Regions from separate parts of the Homo sapiens genome. Here region 1 is linked to region 2. The links are contacts of gene promoters, found by promoter capture Hi-C in human tissues and cell types (Jung and others, 2019). All regions are on one chromosome and are shown on one strand. Each heading gives the region's core, a stretch centred on a gene start or on the middle of the fragment in contact. The rest is flanking DNA. Distances are from core to core; before and after follow the strand shown.

Region 1 (6,099 bases), core at 3,152-5,651, 1.9 Mb after region 2:
CATTTGGCTGTGTATTTTGTAAAAATGCGCATTTAAGATCTCAATCCTCTGCAGTGCCGGTCAGCCCCGGCGCTGGCTGCGGGCCGTCTAAGGTTTCTCCAAGAGTGCAGTTACAACACCACGTGAATTGATTTTCTCTGCAGTGACCGCTCCAGTCTGACTGGCACCGCAGCTGCCTCCCGACACATCTCATTAGGGTTCTAGGCGAATTACAGCAGCTGGTGTCAGATTATAGAGGTGTTTTCAACAACGAAAACACAGCCCCTCCATCTTCAACGCAACACTAAATCGTTTAGATGGTATCGTTTTTCAGTTAAGAGCATTATTTTTGGACAAAGACGACTTTCGAGTTGGAAGGGCCCCCAGCTCTCTCCAGCTCAGAGGGCACCAAGAATTTTTGAAATCACTTTTCTCCCACCTGCATTGTTTTGGAAGTACTTGTTGCCGGGTAACAGTTTAGCAGCCATTTTCAAGGGCTGGGGAATTTTTTTTTTTTAATATATATATAGATATCTTTTAAAATTTTTTAAATGTTCTATACACTATTGGGGGGTTGTACATGATTTTTTCCCCTTGGAATGCAGTTAGCAAACTTTTACCAGATGCATAATGTTAAAACTGTGTAAAATACTATTGCAATATACAGGTTGGTCTGCTCAGTTGGTCTCCTCCTGGCCCTTGCCGCCCTCTTCCGTGAGGTCTGCAGAGCTCCCCGCCTTGACAGCTGTAGGCTCCTCGAAATTCCCAGAAGCCTCTGAGTCGACCCTGGAGCGCTTGAACCTGCGGTCGGGATACTGGCTGTTGTCAAAAGGCATGCGATGGACGCAGAGGACATGGGTCTTCAGGTTCCCCTTCTGAGAGGCACTGTAGGGACAGTAGCGGCACTGGAAAGGCCTGTGACCTGTGGGCAGAAAGAGTGGCCGGTCAGCACTGTTGCTCACACCTTCCTGGCCCCCAGGGCTCAAAGGATCATAATTGCAATCACCAGTATGATCAATATTATTATTACTTTGCAAAAATCAAATAGTGAGAGTGAGAAAAGCAGCCGATACATCAGGCACATAAGCTAAGATTTAGAAGATCTTCCCATCCCTGAATATTTTTGTTGTTGTTTTTAGAGATCAAGTCCCGTTCCTCATCTCAGGCTGGGAGTGCAGTGGTGCGATTATATCTCACTGCAGCCTCAAACTCCTGGGCTCAAGCCATCCTCCCGCCTTAGCCTCCAGAGTAGCTGGGACTACAGGTACACCACAATGCCCAGCAATTTTGTTTGTTTGTTTTAGAGACAGGATCTCGCTATGTTGCCTAGGCTGGTCTCGAGCTCCTGCCTCAAGGGACCCTCTCTTTTCAACCTCTTAAGTAGCTGAGATTACAGGTGCAAGCCACCACACCAGGCTCTAGCTAGAGTTTTGAACCCAGACTTTCTAGGTAATTGAAGATAAGTCTCCCCATATCTGAATTTTTTTCTATAAAGGGTTAAATAATAAATAGTCCCAGATTTGCAGGCAAAGAGGCAAAATCCAAGATACTGTGTAGGTATTTAGAGAACAAGACAGGAAACAAATATTCCTCAACTTTTTATTGATGAAATTCAAAACTTTATTTATGGACACTGAAATTTAAATTTTATATAAATTTCATGTGGGATGAACTACTATTATTCTCATTTGAGTTTTTTTCCTAAACATTAAAAAAATGGAAAAACCATTCCTAGCTCACAGGCTGTATAAAAACAAACAATTGCTGGACACAGTGGCTCACGCCTGGAATCCCAACACTTTGGGAGGCTGAGGCAAGTCAGTCGTTTGAGCCCAGGAGTTTGAGATCAGCCTGGGCAACATGGTGAGACTGTCTGTACAAAAAAAATTTAAAAATTAGCCAGGGACATGCCTGTGGTCCCAGCTACTCAGGAGGCTTAGGCAGGAGGATCACTTGAGCCAGGTGTTTGAGGCTGCAGTGAGCTATGATGGTACCAGTGCACTACAGCCTGGACAACAAGCAAGACCCTTTCACAAACACAAAGAACAAACAAACAAACAAAAAACCAGGCAATAGTTAGATTTTGTCCACGAGCTACACTTTGCTGACCCCAATTCTGCACAAAGACCATAAATCCTTCCATCTGGGAGTCTGACTCAGGCCTCAGGGCAAAGCCAGCTCATGTTCTGATCCTCCCGTTGACTCTTTATTGTTGAGCAAACCAAGAATGGCAAGGGAGCGTGTGTTTGGGGGTGGGGTGAGTGAGGGGTGTCACCTGAGTCTTGCTCTTAGGCAGAGTTGGAAGGGCTGAGCTGGGGGGATTTCTAGAGTCTGAGGGTCTCAGGGGCAGCAGCGAAAGTTGTCGGGACCAGGAGAAAGATGAACAGGTAATCAAGGCCAGCATGAGTTTTAAAGAAGGTAGATTTTGAATAGTGACTCTTGAAATGAAACCTTCCTAGAAAGACTGTAATTTGGAACAGGAGGTGGATTCCTGTGGACGTTCACCTAATCCTCCAAGCGCAACATCTCTACCCTGATGCGTCACAGCCATGCACAGACTCTACCATCTCGAGGAACTGGTAAAACATCTGGCTGGGGAAGTTATTCTGAAGCAATGGCATCTCCCCTGCTTCCGGGAAGCTGTTGATGAGCCGTTCCTGGAAGCTCTCATGTGCTGTTTCACCCAGCACTCAGAGAGGTCAGGGCCCAGAGCTGGGTTTCATTTGCTCAAAAAAATAAACAAGTAAATAAATGGAGAGCCCCATCACTGGCTCCAGAGAACAAGCAAACACATATTCAGCACTTTTTCTAAAGCAGTAATAGCAGTCCTGCGTCTATTTAGCAAAACAGTCTTGTTCCTGAGAAACAGGAATCCAATGCAACGTTGGAAGCAGAAGCTCACTTTCCCACTGAATTGCACCCAGTGCTAAATTCTTGCTTCTTGTTGGGCTTCTGGAGTTCACTGCCTCTTTGTTCCCTCATAACCAACTGGTGTCCAGGACTAATCCATTCTACCTGTTGAATCTTTTCCTTTGCAATGCTGACTTCAGAACCAGGTCCAGTGTGTACCAATTATTGTCTAGACTATGAACATGGCAGCCCGCGGGTGGCCTTCATGCTTCCAGTTTCCCACCGCCAGCCTGTCCTCCCCAGGGACAACAGAGCGAGTGCCTAAAGCAGAAGCTCAGCCTGTGATTTATTTGCCCCAGATCTTTCATGGCCACTGGCCTCCAAAGGAATAATCAGGACTTTCATGGCTCAATCCTAAAACACCCTTCCATTCCACGCTACAGCACAACCCCTTTTGCCCACACCAAACCAAACCTCAGATGGTCTCTGCACATAGACGTCACTGTGCAGTGTCTCCATACCCTTGCTTGTCTACCCTCTCTCTGAAATGCCACTTCATTCTCTGCAGGCTCAAACCCACTTCTCTATTCAGGCTTTGATCAGCAGGATGCCTGCTTTGTGGGCCTGAGTGTATGTACTGGTCCTCCCAAAAAGGCCGTGAATTCCTGGGGCAAGAACCATGACCATCTCAGTGTTATGAATGCCAAGCCCAGTGCCTGGCACAAAGCAGGTAGTCAGGAATTATTAATTATATTCTTGTATCACCTTGCCTTTTTCTAAGGAATTATACATTTTTGGATTTTCTTTTTTTTTTTTTTTTGATGGAGTCTCACTCTGTTACCCAGGCTGCAATGCAGTGGCATGATCTCAGCTTACTGCAACCTCTGCCTCCTGGGTTCAAGTGATTCTCCCGCCTTAGACTCCCCGAGTAGCTGGAATTACAGGCATAAGCCACCATGCCCAGCTAATTTTTGTATTTTTAGTAGAGATGGGGTTTCTCCATGTTGGCCAGGCTGGTCTCAAACTCCTGACCTCAGGTGATCCACCCACTTTGGCCTCCCAAAGTGCTGGGATTACAGACGTGAGCCACCATGCCCTGCCAGGAATTACACATTTTTGGATAGTGCTTCTGCTTCTTCTGTTTCTACTGTTGTCCCTAAGACAAGGCTAAATTTCATCAACCTTCCCACTTCAAGAAGACAATGTGCAAATCTACAGACTTCGGAGTTAAGAACAAAATAAAGTACAAGAACAGTGCACTTGCTGTTGGCCCTTCCTGACAGCCAACCACAGGAGGAAGAGCACAGCTAGCACGAGGGGCCAGTGCCATGATTGCCAGGTAAGAGAAGGAGTCCCCAGGGTGACTGCCCATTTGCTGTCTTGCCACCCTTTTCACCTTAAGGGCTTGGTCACCTAGGGAAGGCCCTGGGTTGGGAGGCGAAGGACAACTGGGACATATTTCCAATGCAAATTTTCGATTATACAAAAAAATGCAAATGGTCCCTGTTCTTCATGACCTGGGAGTTAGGGCATAGACTGAAGGATGGAATTAGGATGCCAATCAGAGGCAATGGGATGGGCAAAGCCACACCCATTCTCCGTACCTTAATGGTGAATCTAAGTCAGGACTAAGCTGGGCATGAGTGAGTTCCAAGTAGATCGTCCTGGCCAAGCATCTTAGAGACAACACAGAGCCCCCAAGATTCAGCCATCCAATTTTTTAAGTTATCATCCCTGTGGGCCCGAAGCTATGCCCAGGACTCACTGAGAGAGAGTTCGAGCTACTCTGAAATGGACACTATTAAGCAAGAAAAAGGCGGGCCCAATTTGTAGCTGGAGGCCTACAAGCCAATTGAAGGTCATCCCAAACAACATAAAGAAGGAGCAAGACACCGGGAAACCTGAGAAATGTTTCGAGGCTTTGGCCAAAGCTTCTCTGAAATGGACTGTATTTTCTATGTTTCTACCAAGGGCAGCTCTGTAGCAGTTCATGGACAAAGGCTGGCCACTGTCCTAATTACCATGGCTCAGATAAAGCTAGGGCTAAGTCATTCATTTATTCATTATATGGCAATAATTTATTGATGGAGAATGTCACTATCGTATGACAAGTCTTTCGAGTAAAGAACTCCAAATAGTAAGTAAAAATAAAAAATAAAACCAAAACCCTTGGTACCATGATCCAAATAGGCCAGCAGCACTATGAAACAAAGCGACCAAACCTCACTATTGTTTATAAATCTGCCTCGGTTTACCAGGATGACACTAGTTCTTCCATTCTTCAGTTGTTTTTGTTCATCAGCAAAACTGTCTATTGTATTTTCTTTCTTTTTTTTTTTTTTTGAGACAGAGTTTCACTCATTGCACAGGCTGCAGTGCAGTGGTGTGATCTCGGCTCACTACAAGCTCTGCCTCCCGGGTTCACACCTTTCTCCTGCCTCAGCCTCCTGAGTAGCTGGGACTACACGCACCCGCCACCACGACCGGCTAACTTTTTGTATTTTTTTTAGTAGAGACGGGGTTTCACCGTGTTAGCCAGGATGGTCTCAATCTCCTGACCTCGTGATCCACCCGCCTCAGCATCCCAAAGTGCTGGGATTACAGGCGTGAGCCACCGCGCCCAGCCAACTGTCTATTGTACTTTCGATTGTCACATTACTGAGTAATAATTTCACGTATGAATCCTATGCTACATGGAAGCCACCCTCCCTACAAATGATACTGCCACAGGAGTGATGCAACGTGCCTCTTGGCAAACTAAAATGTGGACCTCAGATATCACCTTTATTTGCAATGAAAGCCTTTTTGATTTGGCCAACTTGGTATAAAAGCACTTAGTACCTTTTTTCCACCAATCGATTTTAAAATATTAATCATGATTTTATCCTATGGTTATATTTTGAATCTCTGTTTCTTGGTAATAGCCAAATGTATAATAATAATTCTGGCAGATTTGGATACTTCACTGGTCAAAACATTAGTATTGAATTGGTTTCATTTTCACTTAGGTGAGATGGAAATCTATATGTAAATCCATCTAAAGCTATGCACATATCCATTTGTAGAAAGAAGTCTATACAATGCTAGAATCATAATAAATCCTGATCTTGCAGTGTATCTAGTAAGTAGAAGCTTTGTAGATAATACTGATAGTACCTAAAGACCCTGAAGACCTTCATTCCACAGTTTTTCACATACATTTTTGCATGTTTATCCTCATATTTGAGCTTTGGACAATTTTGCCAAGGGATGATATCAGCTCCATTGTAC
Region 2 (5,721 bases), core at 3,137-5,636:
GCACCATGCTTCCTGTTTCTTAAAATATATGACTGCCCTCTGGAAAGCGGTTTATCTATTACACATAATGGTGGTGATCCACCTGTGGCCGCCTTTTCTACACTCAAACTGGGCTTCCAGTTAAAATACAGAAAATACCAGTTCATTCTGACTGTCTCATTTTTTCTTTCTACAGGTTTTGGTTTTTATGATGAACAACTCTGAACATACACTAAAACTGACAATACATATAAAAAGCCCCTAAGTCCCCCATCCCCAGTCCCCATCACCAGTTGACACAAAATGTCAACTACCAGCAACATTTTGTGATTGGCCCTATGAGTTGTTTCCTATAAATCTTACCTAATACACACCTGGAGAACATCTTGGTAAGAGAAGTGACCTGGTACTTTTACTAGGGATTAAAGTACAGTTCTCTAGGTTTATAAACTTCACACTTCTTACACATCTCAAGTGTTTTCAGCCTAAGCAAATATTTCATCTAGTGATAGCAATAATGGTATCTAATCACCCCATTCAACTAACTCAAGCTAACTTTATGGAAATGAAATCAAAGATGCTTACACCTGGCCCGGGCCGACTGATCCAGAACTTGGGCTAAGATACTGTTTCTCATTTCTGCTTCCCTACAACGAAAACATAGGTCAAACACAATTAAAACACAGCTGTCGGCATTCCCATGTAACATACGAGAAAGAACCCATCCAGTATGTGTCTCCACATGGGGCCTGCGGTATACAAACTGCATTATGGTAGTTGCTGTACATAAGGCTGCAGCTACATTCAAGTAGAATCCCCTTTTGCCCTCAAAGAACCAGCTTTATATTACACAGGTGACAACCTACCAGGCTGGAAGGTGAGCTTTACAGTTTCATCAGAGTGGAGCCTCAGTTCAAACACCATCACCAACATTTCTTAAGTACCTATTGCGTGACAGGTGCTAGAAATTTATAGTGGGATTTCAGGCAATTAGAAGGACCATGTGACTAATCTATATCATTTTCTTAGAGATAAAGCTGAGATCCAGGAGGCTATGCTAAAGAGACATAGGTAACTGTGGCCAAGCTACAGCCAGATTCCATGTTTTAAGACTCTCAGTTCTATTTTTCTGGGTGGGGAAGGGGAATGAAATTATAACTTTGCAACTATCCTCACTTCTTCCTACCTACCCAAATAGAAAGTAGTTCACGTTCACAGGACAGTGGTCTCATGGACTTGTTTCTTTTTTCTTTCAAATGAAATCCTTTAAGAAATCTAAAAACAAATGAGCACAGATGCTTTGGCTCAACTGAGAGGGAGAGCTGGGGCTGGCTGTGCCCACTATCCACTCCCAGCTCAGAGGCCCTTCGGTTCATGGAATGTGGCTTAAAGCTCATTTCCATAGGCCACTTCTTTATGGTTTGAGTACTGCAGCCCTGCCACAAACTTTAAGAGATGGGGTCTAGGCCAGGCATGGTGGCTCATGCCTGTAATCTCAGCACTTTGGGAGGCTGAGGTGGGTGGATCACTTGAGGTCAGGAGTTTGAGACCAGCCTGGCCAACATGGTGAAACCCCATCTCTACTAAAAATACAAAAATTAGCCGGGCATGGTGGCGGGTGCCTGTAATCCCAGCTACTTGGGAGGCAGAGGCAGGAGAATCGCTTGAAGCTCAGAGGCAGAGGTTACGGTGAGCCAAGATTGTGCCACTGCACTCCAGCCTGGGTGATGGAGTGAGACTTCATCTCAACAACAATAAAAAAAGATGGGGTCTCACTCTGCTGTTCATGCTGGAGTACAGTGGTGCAATCACAGCTCACTGCAGCTATGATCAGCTCAAGCTCCTGTGCTCAAGTGATTCTTCCCCCTCGGCCTCCTGAGTAGCTGGGTCTACAGGCTTCAGTCACCACACCTGGCCTGCCACAAACTATTATATCACAGAACCCTAAGATGCCATCAATTCTAAGATACACCATAGTTTTACGTATCTCTAAAAATGAAAAACCCTAAAATGAGAGGTCTAATAGAGATCTCCATTCAAAACTGGGGTTTCTCGGGAGGCCAAGGTGGGAGGATCACTTGAAGCCAGGAGTTTGAGACCAGCCTGGGTGATATAGCGAGGCTATTAAAAAAAAAAAAAGTTTAAAAAAATTAGCCAGGCATGGTGGTGCACGCCTGTCATCTCAGCTCCTCAGGAGGCTGAGGTGGGAGGATCACTTGAGCCCAGCAGGAGTTTGAGGCTGCAGTGAGTTCTGATCCCACCACTGGGGTATCAAAGAGCAACATTCTCAGTACAAAGTAAAGAATAAATAAATATGCCATGCAGTAAGGGGCAGTACAAAAGCTTGCATGCACCTGGCCCTGACGTAAAGAAGAAAAAAGTTCAGTCTTACAGGGTTGCTGTCTGAATTCACACTACTAGGCAGGAGGCAGGGGAAAACCTCAAGCAGAGAATTTAACTTTCAATGGTCTCAGAAATGTACTCAAGTGATAGCAGAGTCAAAAGTAAATCCCCTCTGGAAGAATCTGGGGCAAGAGCAATCTGTTTTAAAAGGCATCCTGATTTCAGATATGTGACAATGAAAAGATGTACACGGCAGAAATCAATGAAATTTGCGTCGTTTTACTTCCTATCACTACTCCAGATACTTCTCACCGTCTGTCTTCTCCCGAACCCTCCCTTCCTATTTCTGTAGACCCAGCACAGTGCCTGACCCAGAGCAGGTGCTCTATAAATATTTGCTGGAGAGGAGGAGTAAGAAGGTGAGGAAGGGGAAATAGAGAATTGTCCAGTAGCTAAAGGTTTCAGTCTTGCAAGATGAAAACATTCTAGAGTGTGAACACTACTGAAGAGCACACTTAAAAATGGTTGTGATGGTGAAATTTTATTTAACCACAATTTTTAAAAAATGATAGCATGATAGGGTAATCACATACTCATTCAATAAACCTGCCACCGAATCAATTACCTGCATCTGTCTCAGGTGCTGTGCGCTGTGTTGGGATAAAACAATCAGAATAGCTTACCAGTTAACACTTATTGAGCACTTACTAAGTGAGGCACCGGACTCACGTCACCCCCACAGCCGAGGAAACTGCCACAGCTGCCTATTATCAGGCTCATTTTTAAGGTACTCACATTGTAGCAGAGAAACATCAACCAGTAATTGCAATACAAGGTCTGATGTGGAGCTGCACACGTGTTTATTTAACAATAATGAAGATACCCTGCGGATGATTTTGGCCAAATCACCATTCCAGCAAAACAAAAAAATCTGAGTCACACACCTGCTTAAAATAACTACAGCAAAAGAAATCCATTTGGTGAAACCACCCTTCAAAAAGTTCACGTTTCCAGCCCATACCTGTGCTTTGCTTCCTGTTGGGCCGCATCACCAGGATCCTGGAAAAAAAAAACTTAAATTTAATAGAGAAATTTCACGGGAGGCGGCGGGAAAAAGGAACGGTTCTGTTGTTTCCTATACATAACAGTCTCTTGCGGTGGTAGAAACAACTCCCCAAATAAGAAACTGGGCCTCACAGAAATCAATGAACTAGTTCCCACTTACAACGTTTTGATGAACGTCTAAAACCACAACCTCAGAAGGCTTTGGAATACAGAGCACCCTGGGGAGGGGAATCCCTGTATTACGAAACCGTGTTTCACATGTAGGAATAATTTCTGGAAAATAAAACGGGCCTCGGTATTAGGGACAACGATAACTCAAAGACTGCGCCCTCCGTCCCTAAGGTCCCGGTCCCTTATCAGAAACGCCTCTCCGGGCGTGTGATCCATCCAAGCTTCCCAGGCGGCCCCTCCCTGTCATCCCGGCGGGGCAAGCGTTCCTCCGACCCTGCCGCGCTCTCAGCACCGGGAACACAGCGGACCCTCAATACCTGTCGGCTAAACTTGGGTCATAACAACTGAACTCCGGAAAAACTGAATTCGGTCCGGCTGCTGGCTCCAAAAGCTGAGATTGTGCTTGGATCCAGGCCCGCCAGGACGAGCCCGCTCCAGGCTAGGGGACCCCACACCCCAACGCCAGGGCAGGTCCCGCACGTGGCGGCCCCCGCCGCCAGCCTCCTGGGCCCCTCGCGACGAGGAAAGCGACGAGGCCACCTCTGAGCCGGCCACGAGGCCGCCAGGGCAGCGCAGGGGACCGGGGCCCCGGGGAGGCGCCCAGAGCCTCCGCCCCGGAGGCGCGCCCTACACTCCGGGCGAGGGCGGCGCCCCGCGAGGGCCAAGCCTGGCGGGGGCTGATGCGCTCACCCCGTGTTTGGCCTGCAGCTCGGCCAGCCTCTGTCTCCTCAGCGCCTCAAGCTCCTCGTCCGCCATGGCTCGGCGTCAGCGCTGGAGCAGCCGCGGTCACTCTCGCAGCCCCTCGGCGCGAGCGCGGCCTTGACCACTGCGCAGGCGCTCGCGGGGCCCAGGCGCCACCAATCCAGCCCGGAGCCACGCCCCGCGCCGCTGCCAGGGCGCCGGCAGAGGCCCGATTCCCCGATTTCAGGCGGTCGAGCTTGGGCGCACGGAGGGGCGGGGCCTGGGGCGGGGCCTCCGGGATCCACCTCCCACCCGTGATCGGCGCCTCTGCGTGCAGGGACTTGGGCTGCGCTGGGGCGGGGCTGCGCTTTGGAAAGGTTAAAACCTGAAAGTGTGGCATCAACAAGTATAATAATTATGGGTGCAATGTGCTGGTGACCTAGAGGGTTAGGCGTATATTATCTCTATTTATAGATGAGGAACCAGGGGCGCAGGAAGGCTGAGTGGGGTGATGGAAATGTCCTAAAGCTGGATCGTGGCGGTGGCTGCCCGGCTCCTCGGTGCACACAGAGGCCGGCCGGTGGCTCGCCGCCTGTGGTCCCGACGCTTCGGGAGGCGGTAGGGTCATTTGAGGTCAGGAGTTAGAGACCAGCCTGGGCAATATGGCAAGAGCCTATCTCTACTAAAATTTTAAAAAACTAGTTGGGCGCGGTGATGTGCACCTGTAGTCCCAGCTACTCAGGAGGCTGTGTCAGGAGGATCGCTGGAGCCCGGAAGTTCGAGGCTGCAGTGAGCCTTGATCTCGCCACTGCACTCCAGCCTGGGAGACACAGCCAGACCCTGTCTCTAAAAAAAAAAAAAAAAAAAAAAAAAGTGCACATCTGCCTCCTCGCCATCTGCCTCCTCCACGCACAAAAGGGCTTTTCCTGGGAGGATACTGCAGTGGGCAGCTGTGGCTGGTGTAAACTCTTTGGTGGAACAAATCCCTTCTGCCTTTGACTTGGGGGAATTGGGGGCAGAGAGGATATTCAGCTACCTAAACGTGTGACTCATACAGATTCTGTTTGTTTGTCTGTGTGTGTGTTATTTTATTTTTTACATTAAAAAAATACAGATGGGGTCTCGCTATGTTGCCTAGGCTGGCCTCTATCTCCTGAGCTCAAGCAATCCTTTTGCCTCAGCCTCCCAAACTGCTAACATTACAGGCATGAGCCACCACACCTGGCCTGTGTGTTTTAATTGTGGCAAAATATACACAATACAAAATTTACCATTTTCACCATTTTTAGGTGTACTTTTCAGTGGTATGAAATGCATTATCGTGCAGTTGTCACTCAATCTCAGCTCACTGCAACCTCCACCTCCCGGGTTCAAGCGATTCTCCTGCATCAGTCTCCCAAGTAGCTGGGACCACAGGCGTGCACCACTGTGCCCGGCTAATTTTGTATTTTTTAGTAGAGATGGGGTTTCACCATGTTGGTC

Evidence for each region. Contacts are between HindIII fragments. The study calls those that stand out against the background at their distance.
Region 1: a contact is called between a fragment that was not itself captured here and the fragment with the promoter of PDCD5 in region 2, in 1 of the 25 tissues and cell types used here (dorsolateral prefrontal cortex).

Annotation. Positions count from the first base shown.
Region 1 is chr19:30,705,559-30,711,657 of GRCh38, reverse strand. It overlaps a transcript of ZNF536 not described here. Among named protein-coding and RNA genes, the nearest start is that of ZNF536-AS1, 38 kb to the right of the region's middle. The HindIII fragment of the contact is 5,215 bases long and covers 1,794-6,099 here.
Region 2 is chr19:32,579,855-32,585,575 of GRCh38, reverse strand. PDCD5 (programmed cell death 5) reads right to left here and starts at 4,386. Exons shown (of 6, transcript NM_004708.4): 1 at 4,249-4,386; 2 at 3,344-3,381; 3 at 565-626. The coding sequence starts at 4,314. RefSeq lists silencers at 4,385-4,561, 3,907-4,636 and an enhancer at 4,847-4,936. The HindIII fragment of the contact is 5,718 bases long and covers 3,052-5,721 here.